Linked DNA regions of Homo sapiens: region 1 is linked to region 2. Evidence: promoter capture Hi-C in 16 types of primary human blood cells and fetal thymus (Javierre and others, 2016). All regions are on one chromosome and are shown on one strand. Each heading gives the region's core, a stretch centred on a gene start or on the middle of the fragment in contact. The rest is flanking DNA. Distances are from core to core; before and after follow the strand shown.

What was found. The method cuts DNA at HindIII sites, captures the fragments that hold promoters and counts their contacts. A CHiCAGO score of 5 or more calls a contact.
Region 1: a contact is called between a fragment that was not itself captured here and the fragment with the promoter of TBR1 in region 2, in 2 of 17 cell types (total B cells and naive B cells). The highest score is 7.9, in total B cells.

Annotation. Positions count from the first base shown.
Region 1 is chr2:156,314,962-156,321,988 of GRCh38, reverse strand. No RefSeq gene overlaps it. Among named protein-coding and RNA genes, the nearest start is that of NR4A2, 14 kb to the left of the region's middle. The HindIII fragment of the contact is 301 bases long and covers 5,229-5,529 here.
Region 2 is chr2:161,411,937-161,419,090 of GRCh38, reverse strand. It overlaps TBR1 (T-box brain transcription factor 1), which reads right to left and starts at 2,794. Exons shown (of 6, transcript NM_006593.4): 1 at 1,989-2,794; 2 at 1,261-1,415; 3 at 769-890; 4 at 41-199. The coding sequence starts at 2,680. RefSeq lists enhancers at 2,046-2,668, 4,430-4,579 and silencers at 4,090-4,139, 4,210-4,379. The HindIII fragment of the contact is 4,993 bases long and covers 1-4,838 here.

The DNA of each region.
Region 1 (7,027 bases), core at 4,130-6,629, 5.1 Mb after region 2:
CACCGAGAATATCAAATTATCTAATTGTATTTTAAACCTAGGCGTCGGCATTGCAGAAATGTTTCCAAGATACAAACAGATCTGTGAGGGAAAAGTTTAATTTCATTGCAATATTTTGATCACAGAGTTTTCCAGTACAGGATACAATTCCATCTCGCCAGGTCCTATACAGGGGAGTGACACCAGAGCACTTCTAGGCATCGCGCGTGTTGCGCGTCTTCGAGCCACCAGTTCCCCGCCTCGCGTCGCACGCTCGTCCGTTTCCTTTTGTATCCGCCGCGCGGCAGCGCCGAGGTGCCGAGAGTAAAGGCTGGGGGGCTCCCTGCCTGGGCCTCGCCTCTCTCTGTGGAAGACGCGCTTGTCTCAAGCCCCGATGCTCTCAAATCCAGGTCAAAAATGGAGACCGTTTCCCTCAAGGTGGAAGGGGAAAGGAGAGTATCTATTCTTGGAGATTTTAAAACTTTTTCTCAGTATTATTTTCACTATTGAATAGAGGTCTGGAAGTGAGTTTCTCATATATTCTTCTCCAAAGGAGGTTGTAAGGTCCCCTCTCCATTTGTCCCCGCTGTCAGAATAGGAATGCTTGCATAGTGGCCGCACCCCGGAATTTCTCAGGATTCCAAGCTTCCCAGGCAACTATGGGCTGGGACTGACTCAATTTTGGAGTCTCATGGAGGAGGAAGAGGGTTTGGGGTCTCAGCCGACGCCCAGTTAACCCTTCTTCCCCATAGGGCTCAGCCACAACTTAAAAAAAAAAGCGCACCCAATTCCAAGTCTTCGGGAAAGGTTCTGCTTAGATCGGTGCATCCGACAGAACTCGAACCCGAGCAATCACGTTTCGCACCCCTGCATTTATTGTGTTCAGTCGATACTGGCTGACTGCTCGTAAAGCAAGATATGAATTCCAAACAGGTCATCACTTTTTAGTAATTCGTTTTTAATAATAAAATGAACATATGGAAATCCCCATTTTACTTTTAAATTTTGCTAGAAACCAAAATATTGCACATAACTATTTAGGATGGCAAGACTGTGATTTAAAGTCATTTTCCTTTAGTATGTTCCCCGAGACCATTAGGAGCGACAGCTGGGGCCGCAAGAAAGATCTTTCCTCCGACTTTGACTTTGCCTTTCCTTAGGAAAAGTCCAGCTTCCGTCGGAGGGCGCCTGGTGGGGCGGTCCTGACGCGGGAAAGCAGGGCCCCACCCCACGCTGGGGGCGCTCGAAGAGAGCGGCAATTTTGTTCCCTAGCCGCGAAGTGCGCTCTGGGCCCTGCAGACAGTGGCGGGAGAATTCCAGAAAGCAGGGTTCTTGCCGCGTACTCCCCACCCCCACCCCCACGCCTTCTTATTAGTCACCCCCCAACCCCTCCTCCCAGCATAGTCTTATTTCGAGGCTTCGGAATTACTGGAGAGGACTTGTGTCCGCGATCCGCCCTGCGGCGAAAATGGAGACACAAGCCCTCCTGCTCTGCCCACTGCGTTTTGGAGACGTAGTTTGACTTTGCGGCTTGCAGTCGTAGACTTTGCGGAGAGAGCCTTGGAGCAATTAGGACGCATTCACTTGGGTGAACTTTGTTTCCTCGGTGTCCCTCCCTTTCCTCCCCAGCTGCTCCCTGCGTCTTCCTCAGCTGTTCTACACCCCCCCGCCCCCCACCCTCAGGGCGAAGGCTGCAACAGGCTGCCGTCGCCTCTAGGTCGCGTCTGTTGCGCTAGGGCACGAGCACAGGAGGCGGAGCGCGTCTCCTGCTTCTCCCTGCACCCAACGATTTCCGGTCAGTCTCTGGTCTCTTGGAACGCTGAGCTGGACTGGGGCGACCTCCCACGCGACACTGGGGAAAACTCTTTTTCTAGTGGTGAGGGCGCACAAAAGGGCGGGGCAGAGGCGCGTCCGCACCTCGTGGAGGTCTAGGAGAGGGGCCCAGACGCCCATGCCACAACCATGCTCCACACGTGTGCTCACGACCCAAAGCTCTGAAGATAGATTGTGCGTTCCCGCCCTGCTTTCAGGTCTCCTCGCAACGCATGTAATGAGCCCTAGGCCTGCGAGCGCTGGAGCGAGCGTCTAGTCAAGTGGCCAGATCAGGGCTGCGCCTGTAGGGGCCTTGGGGCCGCCTGTACGCTTATCTTCCCGCGGCTGGGAGCGCTCCTTCTTCTCTACAAGATGCTGACTGCGGGCCGCTCGCTGCCCTCTTCTCGGCTTAGCTGAACCCTGTCGCGCCGAGTTTAACTAGACACAGCGCCGAGCCGGCACCTGGATCCTAGCAGAGCTCAACTTCAACGCTTTTCTCCTCATTTCTTCTTCCCACACTTAATCTTTCTCACTCCCATTTTTTCTTATTTCTATCTCAACCTGTGTTTAGATAAACTAGGATTTCCAGGACATGTGTCACCCGTTCTAGCAGATACAATGCCCAAGTTTCTGCTAGAGACGTCCCTGGTACAGTAGAGGGCGGCTGCTGCGAGTGTGAGAAGTCTTTCATCGGGTACTAGAGGGACTTCCAGAGGGATTGAGTCTACCACAATTTCTTGGCTCTGGAAGCTTGGACAAGAGGATTGTTTTGACAGACTCAAATTAAATTGGGATTTCGAGAAGGGTAAGGACAGAGAGAGGACTCCTCATCAATAAGCTGCAAATAGGCCAGTGTTTTTCAAACTGAGGGTCCTGACCCATTAGTGGTTTTCAAAGATATTATATTGGGTTGCCATCAGAATTTTCTTCTAAAGAAATGAAAGAATAATAGAATAGAAATTATGAGGGCTTTGCAGGATAGCAAAAATATAAGACGTCTAAGCATTGTTTGCTGCAATTTTTCTTGGGTGACACTATGAAATATATTTATGGGGGGGTCTCAGTTAAAAAGGTTGATAGTGTCACTACTGAGGACCAATTGTACATGAAGTGAGAGAAAGGGCTGCCTTTATTGAGAGATACTGATAAGGGAATCTCAGCACTGTGGTTTTCTTTTCTTTTCTTTTTCTTTCTTTCTTTTCTTTTCTTTTCTTTTTTTTTTTTTTTTGAGATTGAGATGGAGTCCTCGCTCTGTCGCCCAGGCTGGAGTGCAGTGGTGTGTTCTCAGCTCACTGCAGCCTCTGTCTCCCTGACAGGTGCGGGCACCCCACCCAGCTTTTTTTTTTTTCTTTTTTGTGTGTTTCTAGTAGAGATGGGGTTTCACAGTGTTGGCCAGGCTGGTCTCAAACCCCTGACCTCAGGTGATCCACCTGCCTTGGCCTCCCAAAGTGCTGGGATTACAGGTGTGAGCCACCATGCCTGGCCTACTACTGTGGTTTTCTGGCCAGTCCTCTTTCTTCACTCTGGTTTGTTCGTTTTTGGTCACCACTCCAATGGACTTCTGTATCTCTTTATCCTCTGGCCTGTTATCTGCTTGAAGCCAGGTGGGTGTCATAAGGAAGGGCCAGGGGGACAAGCACATAAGCACATGTAGCCACCCCCTTTTCATCTTCCTCAGCAACCTGGTACCTGGGAAGAGAGTGAACAGCAAAAAAGGCATAGAGGAAAGCTAGAGAAAAGGGATGGTAGTGAATGTCCCATTGTCCATGTCACAGGCCTTCTCATTTATATGCTATTGCCAAACAAGAAGGAGGAAGCAAAAGCTTTTGGGGGAAATGGGTAGAGATAGGGATGGATAAAGATAATGAACCATACTGTGAATGATCAGGTGAGCAGGGACTGATAAGTTGGAAGAGGAGGAGGCAATTTAGAGGATTTATTTAATCAGAGTCCTAGAGTTGAAGGCAGAGATGAGAAGGAGAGGACTAAAATGGCCAGGGTGCCAACAATAATGTGAATGAGTTTAAAGTAAGAAGAGATCTATGGAAGTGAATAAAAAGGGCACATGGAGGATGCTGGGTGCTGGGCAGGCAGGTAGGTATAAGGTGAAAGTTGGATATAGAGGCCATAGCAAGACTATGTTAGGAGAGTGTGGCTCTAAGTATGGGAAGCTCTGGGCTAATGAGGACCACACAGATGTTTCAAGGTGTCATAAAGGAGTCAAAAGGAACAAAATCATTGGCATGGAAACTTGCATTTCCTATAATTCCATTCTAGTCAGAGAGCTTGTTTCCTAAGAGGTGCTGCAATCTTTAGGCAGGGGTGATGTGGACTCCTTCAAAGATTTGGGTCATTGTGAAGGGCAGAAGCAGGTGGCAGACGGAGGACACATTCCATGGTTTCTGACATTCCTCCATTACAATAACTCTGTCTACTACATGTTGCAATTCCAGATATCATATCATATAATCATCTCAACTCCAAATATGACGTTGGCACTGTTATTTCCATTTTACAAATGAAGAGATGAGGTTGAGAGGTATCGTTTATTATCTTGGCCTATAAGTACATGGAAGAGTTGGAATTCGAACTGAGAGCCAGGATATGAACTTACAAGTGCCTTGCTTTAGCACTGCCTGTCCCAGAAGGATTGTACCTTTCTGCTTCTCCAGAAACTAACTAAAGATTTTCTCACCTGCTGAGAGTTGAGGATGTTGCTTCAGGCATGTTCAGACTTCTGGAGGGGAGCATTGACCTGAAACCACAGTGGGGTAAGTGATAATAGCATAATCTTCTTCTCGCTGAAATTTTAAAGAAGGGATTATTTTCATTGCTTTTCGTAGTTTATGGGTGAAGGAGTTCTGAGTTGCTTGCTTTGCTGCCCAAGAAAAGAGTGGGAATGATTGCTGCGTGTGTTTATGCCATTGAGAAAGTCATATTAAAAGTAGTAAAAAAGAAAACTGTTTTTCATCCTCAAGCTGTTTGAATTCCCTTATATTAATCATGTGAGTTTTCAGCAAGCTTCTAGGTTTCCTATCAGGAAAACCAAATTGCATATTAGTTAGTTCACAGTCCTGAGCAGGCCACTTTGTAAAAATGAAAAGCTGGCTATGCATGAACCTTTTATTCTTTCTTCTACTTCTTCTATATTTGTGGTAGACAGTGTTTAGCTGTTATTAACATTTTCTTAAGAGCTACTCTCACAGTCTAACAAATGGTATAAATAGATTTTGCTTAGACAGTCAAGCAGAGAGTAATATTTATTCAGAAGACTGTCTGCATCTAACTTGGTGTGGTCAAAGGGTGGCAAAAATAGTCTTATTATATTATAAAATTTATTAGAATATACATACTTGACAGACAAAACATAGTGGATTTAGATCAGCTGTTTGCTTATACAATAGATTTTGTTCGTCTTTTGACATTTAATTTAAGCTTCACTTATCTGAGGGCTGGAAGTAGGATAAGTATGTTCTGCATGTGTTATGCTTCTTGTTTTATAAGACTTACTTGTCTGCAGTTATCCGGAAATAATTCATAATCAGTGATTTAGGGACAAGGAAGCCTTGTGACATGTTCTCAAAGTGTCTTTCTGAAATGAAGTTCTGAAAAGTTGAATTATGGAGACCCTAACAGGGGTTTCTATTTTTGAGGAATGAAGATAGCTACATTTGCTTTCTTGGTCTTTTGACTAATTATCCTCCCTGCATACTGAATTGATACAGTTAAAAACAAGCTTCTAACAAATCCATAATGAATCTATTCGGTGCCAGGAGTCTGTGTTCTGTGTAATTGTCCTGCTCTCAGAAATGCTGGGCAGAATTCTCTACATGGGCCACATGTGTGGAAATGACATAGAAAACATTTGACACATCAGTGACTTATTTTTAATATATCTGAGAAAAATAAAGTCCGCTGCTGTAAAATCTGCACTTGTAGATGTGTGAGCCCTAAATAACCTTTAAAATTGGTCGTGGTGTGGTGGGAGATGTTGGTATTCATGAGTGTTTTGACATGTTTGACATTTTATGTATGGTGCACTGCTCTGTCTGTCTTGCATTTTTTCCCCAATAGTGCATATTTTCTTACTAAAATTCAGCTTTTGGTGTTTATATTTGGGGTTTCCAAGTCTGCTTATTGGATGAATGATTTGCTTGTTACTTATGCGAATAATGTTTTAATGAATTAGGTTACTATTGATTTTTACACTATAAGCATAAAAGAGGAATTCATAAAAAAGATAATTTTGATTTTAAAAGAAGCAATATATGATAAAATATATTCGATAAGTGCCACATATCTCCAACTTGCAGTGGTCCTCAGTTAGTAAATAAGGAAAAGCAATTCTATGGAATGATTATGCTCTCTGGAGCCAAGGAATTTGTGCACCTGAATCTTGGGTAGTGAATATAGATTTTAAAAATCTGTCTGAGCAGCATTTAAATTTGTCCTCCATTTATATTTGGAAGGGACAAAAGGGTCCCTAGTAAAGAATTGTCAATTGAACTGAAAATCTGGGTGGACGGTAAATATAATGTAAAAAATACATACCTAAGTATATGTAGAATCAGATGTCAATAGTGTTCACTGAATAGGATATATGTTTGATACTGTGGTCATCTCCTTTCGTATCATCTTCTATATTAATTCTCTAGGTAGAATTCAATAAGTGAGTGTAAAACTAATCCTTGGTGAAGCATTTTTCAAATTTATGACTACGATACTACTTTTTTTGAGTATTAGAAAAGGCAAAAATTTTGATTGAAAAGCTTTTACTATCACGTTTTTTCCTTTGTGATAAAACCGAATGCTATACAGTCTATTCTAATTTCTATCCTAACTTGACTAATGATAGATTTGGCTGAAAGTTTCATAATTCAGAATTAAGATGTTGCTAATTACCTTTTCCCTCTTTAAAGCCCATGTTACTAATAATGTGGCTTCCCTTTAAATGTTATTCTCTTTAAGACTGTAAGTGACTCTGAGGCTTTGACATTTTTTTGTCCCAGATATTTCTCCTGTTTTTAATCTCCACTTGTTGTCACATGCCAGGACAGCACTGTACCTTCAGGTGGGAGGACAGAGGGGCAACTTTCTTTGTCCAGGGTGTCAGGGCTCTTTTCCTCTGGAGCGGAAGTTTTATGTGCACTTTCCTTTGTACCCTTTCCCTGGAGACTAACACATCACCTCCATGACACATGTAGCAGTTGTGGCCTGGGGTTTGACCAGGATAGCA
Region 2 (7,154 bases), core at 1,545-4,044:
TGTGCCGCCCGCCTCGCCCCCAGCCCCTAGGTCTCCTTACATCCGTGTTCTGGTAGGCGGTGACGGCGATGAACTGAGTCTCAGGGAAAGTGAACGTCTGCACGCGGCCGGGCTGGCTAGTGTCCTCCGTGCCGTCCTCGTTCACTTCCACCACATGCAGGCGGGGCTGGTACTTGTGCAAGGACTGTAAAACCACCATCTGTCCGGCGGGAAGAAAGGGGAGCGCCGGGTGGCGTGTTAACGCGGTCGCTGTGCGCGTGGCTGTGTGCGCCCGGCTGCGCGCCCGGGCCGGCGGAGGCAGCCTGCAGCCCGCCTTCCAGGCTAACTGACCGCGGGACTCGCCTGGCTGGCGGCTGGCTGGCTGGGGCAGACCGGCTTTCGCACCTCTGGGAGCGAAGATAAGCCGGGGCACCGGAAAAAAGGGGGAAGCCGACCGCCCGATCCTCAGGGCCCTTCTCCTAGTCCTCCTGTAAGGAGGAACAAAGATTTCCACAACCTGCAGATCTTGTGGGGTTTCTTCTCAAAATCAATCAGTATTAGTACTTGGGAAGGTCGGGCACTCCAAAATTGGGCCGACGGAGGTGTTGCCAATGAGAACAACTTTACAGATTTAATATAAATTTGGAGGGTGGAAATACAATTTTTAAGTCTTTTTAATGAAGCAAAGAAACGTGTATCCAGTTCCATATGCTGCTTTACACTGACGAACTGGATGTCAGGGAGGAAGGGGTGAGAGAGAGAGAAAACACGAGCGCTTGAGCCACTGACCTGCCCATTGTTATTTGAAGCTCCTTTGTTGTTCGTAAGTTTTAATTTTCCAAAAGAGATTTCTTGGCGCATCCAGTGAGCCCCAGTGTTGGGGGAATCCGGATGCATATAGACCCGATTTCCTAGAGAAAGAAATACATTGTTTACATATGCCCCTGGCACTGCCCAGTCCCAGCTCCTCACCACGTAGGACACACACACACACACACACACACACACACACACATACACACACCTTACTCCACCATGAAGCCCATTAACTGGGGCTTTTTTAGGCCATTCTTTCTTCCTATTAACTGGGGGTGATTAAAATAGCTTTTGCATAATCCTCCCCCTTCTCGCAGCTCAGTCTGTCCCCCTGTCCCCCTCGTTTCCTTTTAGAAGTCATTGGCCGATCGTTTTAAAAGTCGCTCGAGCCAGTCCACAAAGGCTTTAATTAATCATTCTCACCTAAATAAGTGTCAAGAAAATGTGTTAATTGGAAGGACTTGCCTTGCACATTGGTGTCCGCTTTGCCGCAAGGAACCCATTTGCCTCCTTGAAACCTCCAGTGATTGGGATCCGCCAAAATCACATCCACAAAAATATTGTAATGAGCCGTGGGATCGAGACCAGAAATGTTAAAACTTAAAAAAGGAAACATGCGCCTATTTAAATTAAGGGGTGGGGGGAGAAAACAAGGAAAAAAGAAACATAAATGTTAAAGATTAAATGCAAGAAGCGGGGCGCCAGTTAGCAAAGCAAAACTTGTACTTGCAGCAAATAGGCGAATATTTGCTGGATTAGAAAAAGGGTGGTGGGAGAAGAAAAGAAGTGCAACCCAAATCAGGGAGAGCGGCGGGTGAGCTGGAGTGGGAAGGTGGCAGTTATCACTGCCCAGGTGGAGAGCGAGGTTGGCGACCTGCGTCTCCACCTGTCCGTGCATGCCAGTGTTGATGCGTCCCTCCCATCGCCCAGCCGCTGGCCAGGGCTCTTCCTTTTTCTTGCCTTCCTCTGGCCACTGACTGGCTCTCCCACTATGTTCCTAGAACGGGGTCCCCCCCACCAACATCACCCTGGCGGTTATCCCTTCCACTTTCCCCCTTTCCAAAACTAGCCAACTCTAGGGCGCCTTCCACTCCGCTCCCGACCCCAAATCGTCGCTGCCGCGGCAGTCACAGCCTAGGTGCACTTGTCCCCGGCTGCGCCTAGAGCAGCGGCAGCCAAAAATGTAGTATTACCTTCCCTGTTTGGTGATGATCATCTCCGTTTGGTGCCGGTGAAATTTCAGCCAAAGGGGCCTGTTGCACAGGTACACCTGTGCTTTGCCGGGCACCAGCCCCGGCTGGGTGGAGGAGAACTGGTAGAACGGAGCTCCTTGGTAGGAGTGGCCGTACTGCTGTGGGTAGGGGTAGCCGGCCGTGGGGTATCCCTGCGGCGAGGAGTTGGACAGGAGGCTGTTGTAGGCTCCGTTGGTGATGACCGGGTGGTGGGCCATGTAGCGGCTAGGGCTGCCGATGGAGAAGGCGGGGTGCGCCGGTCCGTGCTGGCCGGGGTACGGGAACATGGCACTGGGAGCAGTGGCCGCAGACTGTGGCTGGCTGGACTGAGAGAGGAGGTAGCGATCTGCAGCAGAGCCATCGAAACTGTGACGAAGCTCAGAGACCCCGTCCAAGACAGGAGAGAGTTTACTTCTCTGGACGTCCCCTGGTGAGTCCTTGGAGTCAGGAAAATTGTCTGTATCTGACTGATTCGTCATCCCCCTGGTAATTTTTTTCAAAGGTGAACTTCTCTCCAGGTTGTCAGTGGTCGAGATAATGGGATGATCGTGCAAGACAAGCTCGGATCCGCCTGAATGTGGGTAGCTGCTGCTCACATTGAGAAATTTCTTGGAGAGCATGATAGAAGGAGAAAGGCAGTGCTCCAGCTGCATAGCTCTAGAACCTGAACACTCGCCCTCCCGTCCCTGGTTTTTAAAGTCCTATTTATCATAAACTAGAAATCCACAGACCCCCTCACTAGACAGAAAGCACTTCAACCAGCAAATGCTTCTCAAAGGTTTGATTTACTTTTTTTTTTCCCTGGGAGAAGAGATTGGCCAATTGACACTATGCAGCAATCAGAAAAGGCTCACTTTTGATCTTGCTGCTTGTGCAGCCGATGAAACGGCTCCTGCCATTGGTTAGCTGCTGACAGTAATTTAATTAGATAGACATTAATTAGGATAATCACCTGGCTCCTGGTAGCGACGATCATGGCAAATTGAAGGGGATGATTTTATTGTTGGCTTGGGGGGTGGGGAATGTGTGTTGGTTTACGTGAGCACTGTTGTGTCACCTTTAAGCTCTGTGACCACTGCTTTAGGAAGATTCAAAGATGTGGAATTTACTAAACATTTCCTACCTTCCCCCCCTTCCCCCCTTTAGAGCGGAGGGGCGGAGGAGGGAATTCGACGATGCTAGGAGACTTTTCGGATCTGAATGAGCCAAATATTCAGTTGAATGTAACGATTTCAAGTGCAAAGTATACAAAGCGCGAGCCGGTGGCCTCTTCTCGCCCTGTAAAAGTTCCAGAGTCTGTCTTTTCCAGCTAATACAAAAGCACACAACACCTGAGCTGGTGCTTTGTGAGCAGATCCTACATGTCCTCGGCGCCCCCACCCCCACCTTTTAAACTGCAAACATAAATAAATAAATCCCTGCTGCTGAGAGCCACAGCGACAAGCAGAAGGGGGGAGGAGAGGGGGCGAAAAGCAGCAACTCACCCACCAATCCACCCACCTCAGGAAGGTTCGGTTTCTTGGTTGAGTACAGAAACAGTGACAATCTATGATCTCCTTTTTAAGTTTTGAAATAATCATAAGCTGTCGGGCTGAAATGCCTTAATGTATTTGCAGTGATGTTTACCGGCTCTTTATTAAATATTTTATCAGCGCACTTGGTTGCAGATTATCTGAAGAACATCTAACTGGGGGCAGGCGCCATGCATCCTTCTCGTCCCTCTGCATTTCCTTCTCTCTGAGGTACTGGCTTGGCGACAGGTTCAAAAGCCTCGCCAGGAAAAGAGAGGGCCGAGTCCCCGTGCAAATGGGCTCGTCAGAAGCGCTGATCTGGGGAGACAGAGTGGAAGTGGTGTCAACACAGTAATCGCTACTGAAAACGTGTGTGTGTGTGTACGTGTGTGTGTTTAATGTTTATATAATCTGGAGGGGAGAAAAAGCATCCATGCCAATAATTTTTAAAAGGAAAAAGAATCTAAAGAGGAATAGAAAAAAACCAATTTAAAAAGATGTTGGCACAAATAAATAGCACGAGGCCCGAAGAGACCCCGAGGTGTAGGGAGGAAGTCTCCCAGCACCGGCTCTACAGAGGAGCCCAGCCCTCGGCCTGAGCCAGAGGGCCAAGAGCGGCAGAGGCTTTTTATCTGCCCAAAGCTGCCTCCCGCGGCCCGGCGCTCGCTGACCTGCCCTCCCGCGGCTTTCCTCCCGGACGCCGAGCCGCGCGGGAATGAGCAGGAGGAGCGCCGCCCAGAGCTCCGCTCGGCCCCGAGAGCTGGCCGGCCCGAGGGCGGGCTCCGCCCGGGAGACTGAAGGAGCAAGGGGTGAGCTGCGTCTGGCGCAGACCCCAGGGGCACACGCTCTTCCCGGGCTGGAGGAGCGGCCTGGGCACCTCAGCCGGGGGAGCCTCTGGCTTCGAGCGAGCGCGTCTGTCCTACCCGGGCCGGGGCAGCTCCCGGAGTGAGAGCAGCGCCTGGGGACATTGGGTGGGTCCTGAGCATGGGCGGAGACGGGTTATCCAGACTCGCCGCTTCGCCACTGTGGTGCATTTTCAGAGCTGCGCCTCGGTGGGCCGAGCGGTCAGCGCTGAGCCGAGACTGCGCCCCTCCAGGCGGGCTGAGCGCCTTGGCTGCAGAGGGCACCAGCTGCGGCCTCCATCAACGCGCCGCGGGCAAGGCCCTGCGCTGGCGGCCTGGGCAGGGCAGGTTGTTGACCAGATGTCCCAGACTAAAGCCGAGACAATTTTCTGGGATAAAAAGAGAGCCAGACCCATTTTTCCTTTCGAAAGCAAACCTCAGCTCCTGGCCAGGAAGCTTCATAAACAAGCAGTCTTAGCTGTTGAATCGTTGGGGTGCGGGGGAGGGGAGTAGGGGATGCCATTTGACACTTGTTTTTCTGCCCTTGACCTTCTACTGCCATTTGCCCTCATGAGAGGCTTTTGACCTCTTGACTACTTTTGGCTACTTTTGTTTCCTTCTTTCTCCATCTTCAACTTCTCTGTCCCTGAGTGCCTCTCCCTCCGGTGCTTCGGAAGACAGTACTTTCCTCCGTTCTCAGTGGGACAGAGCCTTAAATGTGTAGAGGTGAGACATCACCTGGGCTCTTTTTGAGGCTTTGCCATTCTCGACACCCTAAACTGTTTTTTTTTTATGCTAAATTGAAATGTTAAGGTGTTAAAGGATAGAAAAGGGAAAGAGTGCACCTCCTTCAGAGTTTTTAAGGAATTGAATTGATGTGCTCTCTGACCCACTTTGGATTATCAGTACCAAATTCAGTGATTGCTCACATATAGGGTATGCCTTGAATTTATATATACTAAGGAAAATGAAGGCTTTCCTCAGAATCACCACATGTGCCTGTGAACCGTACTTCTAAAAGAAGGCCAGGGCTTCTCAAACCTTAAAGTGTATATGAACCACACCAGGATTCTTTATTATGATTCAATAGGCCTGGGGTGGGGCTTGCTTTCTGTATATATAACGAATTTCCATAAGACCCAGATGCTATTGGTCCAGGCAGATGACACTTTGAATAGTGAGGCCGGAGCTTTCAGTGCCCCCGTATTAGTCTGAGAGAAAAGCAGGGACATTTCTGCACTAGAGACAAACAGTTTTGTTTCCAGAGCTGCTTTACCTCTGCATGATGGAGGGGTAATTGCGTGCACATGTGCGCGCATACATATACAGTCTTAAACAGCTTACTAAGTTTGTGATTAAATGCATCTTTTCAGTGCCTAACTGGGCCTGGGACATCAGGCTGCTGCGAAAATAGCTGTACATTCCAAGACAAAGGTGTTCACTGAGCCTTGCCTCTTAGGGCATCTTGATTTTGATCGACTCCAAATCTACAAAAAGTAATGTAGGTTTTTGCTAGCAAAGATTTTGACAAGGTTCTGAAACTGGGAATGTCACCAACATGAACTAAGTGAGAGTAAGTGGTGTGTGGCTATAGGGAGTCCAGGAAGATGGGGTGATCAAATAAGGGCAAAAAAACAGGCAAGGTAAGCCTTTCCAGTCACAGGACTCAGGATATTTTCAGAGGACTAAGTAGAAAACAAAAACAAAAACAAAAAAACCCTTTCAACCCAAATATTGAGAATAGTTCTTGAAATGTTAAGGCCTTCTTCTGAGGGCACTGTACCCCCCAAAAAATCATTGACTAGCACTCATTAACAACATCTGTGAAATAAGTTATAGAATCTTATTTGCAAAGGGAAAAATCATATCCAAAAAGCCTGCACACAAGTTTGAATTAGGCAAAAGAAAATTTCACTAACTTCCACTTATATTTGAATTTTAAATGGTTAAATGTAATCCCAACAACTTAAATTAATACATATTACATGTCCTACATAAAATATACTGTCACTATATCTGAAACAGTAAACCACAGGACAAGCAAGAAATGCTCAGAATACTTCTTACTCCACCAAAAAAGATACTGTGAAACATACTGGGAATTTAAGCCATTTTGACTTTCAGTTTCTGGTAACTTCACTAGGGAACCAATAAGAGCCTAGACTTGTTCCAGTAGGACAGTAATTTGATCTATCACAGCACTCATAACAGTTCTAGTAGGTTAAGTTAAATTGCAAGTCCATGTAAAACATTCCTTTAATGAAGCTACAGTAATACTCTCACCATATTTTCACAAGGGTGCAGACTAGAATTAGATCTTTGTCTCTGTATCTTTTGCCATACAAATGGTATAATCAGTATGGTTCTGAACCGTAAGTAATAACAGGGGCAGTTACTTTTGTACATCACATTAGAAGTTGGTATTAGCCATTTTTTTTTCTCTATTAGAAAACTGGGTAGTCCTAATTTAGAAAAGATGAGACCAAACAATAGCAAAATTATTGCTTATAAGCTTATATTAAACTCACATTATGACTACTTTTCTCATTTTGCTTTTTAGACATATACTTTCTGTGGCTATTTTAGATGAAAGTCCAGTAGAGTTTGCAGCAGCCAATTCCCAGTTTCAAAACTGTTGGTAGAAATGTACTCTTTTAAAACATGATAAAGTCTAAATTAAAATTGCTCCCTTTTCTTTGTAAATGTACTCTTCCAAAATCCTAAAAGTATGTTTATAAGATAGTGAGTATACAATATTTAGCTTATGACAAATG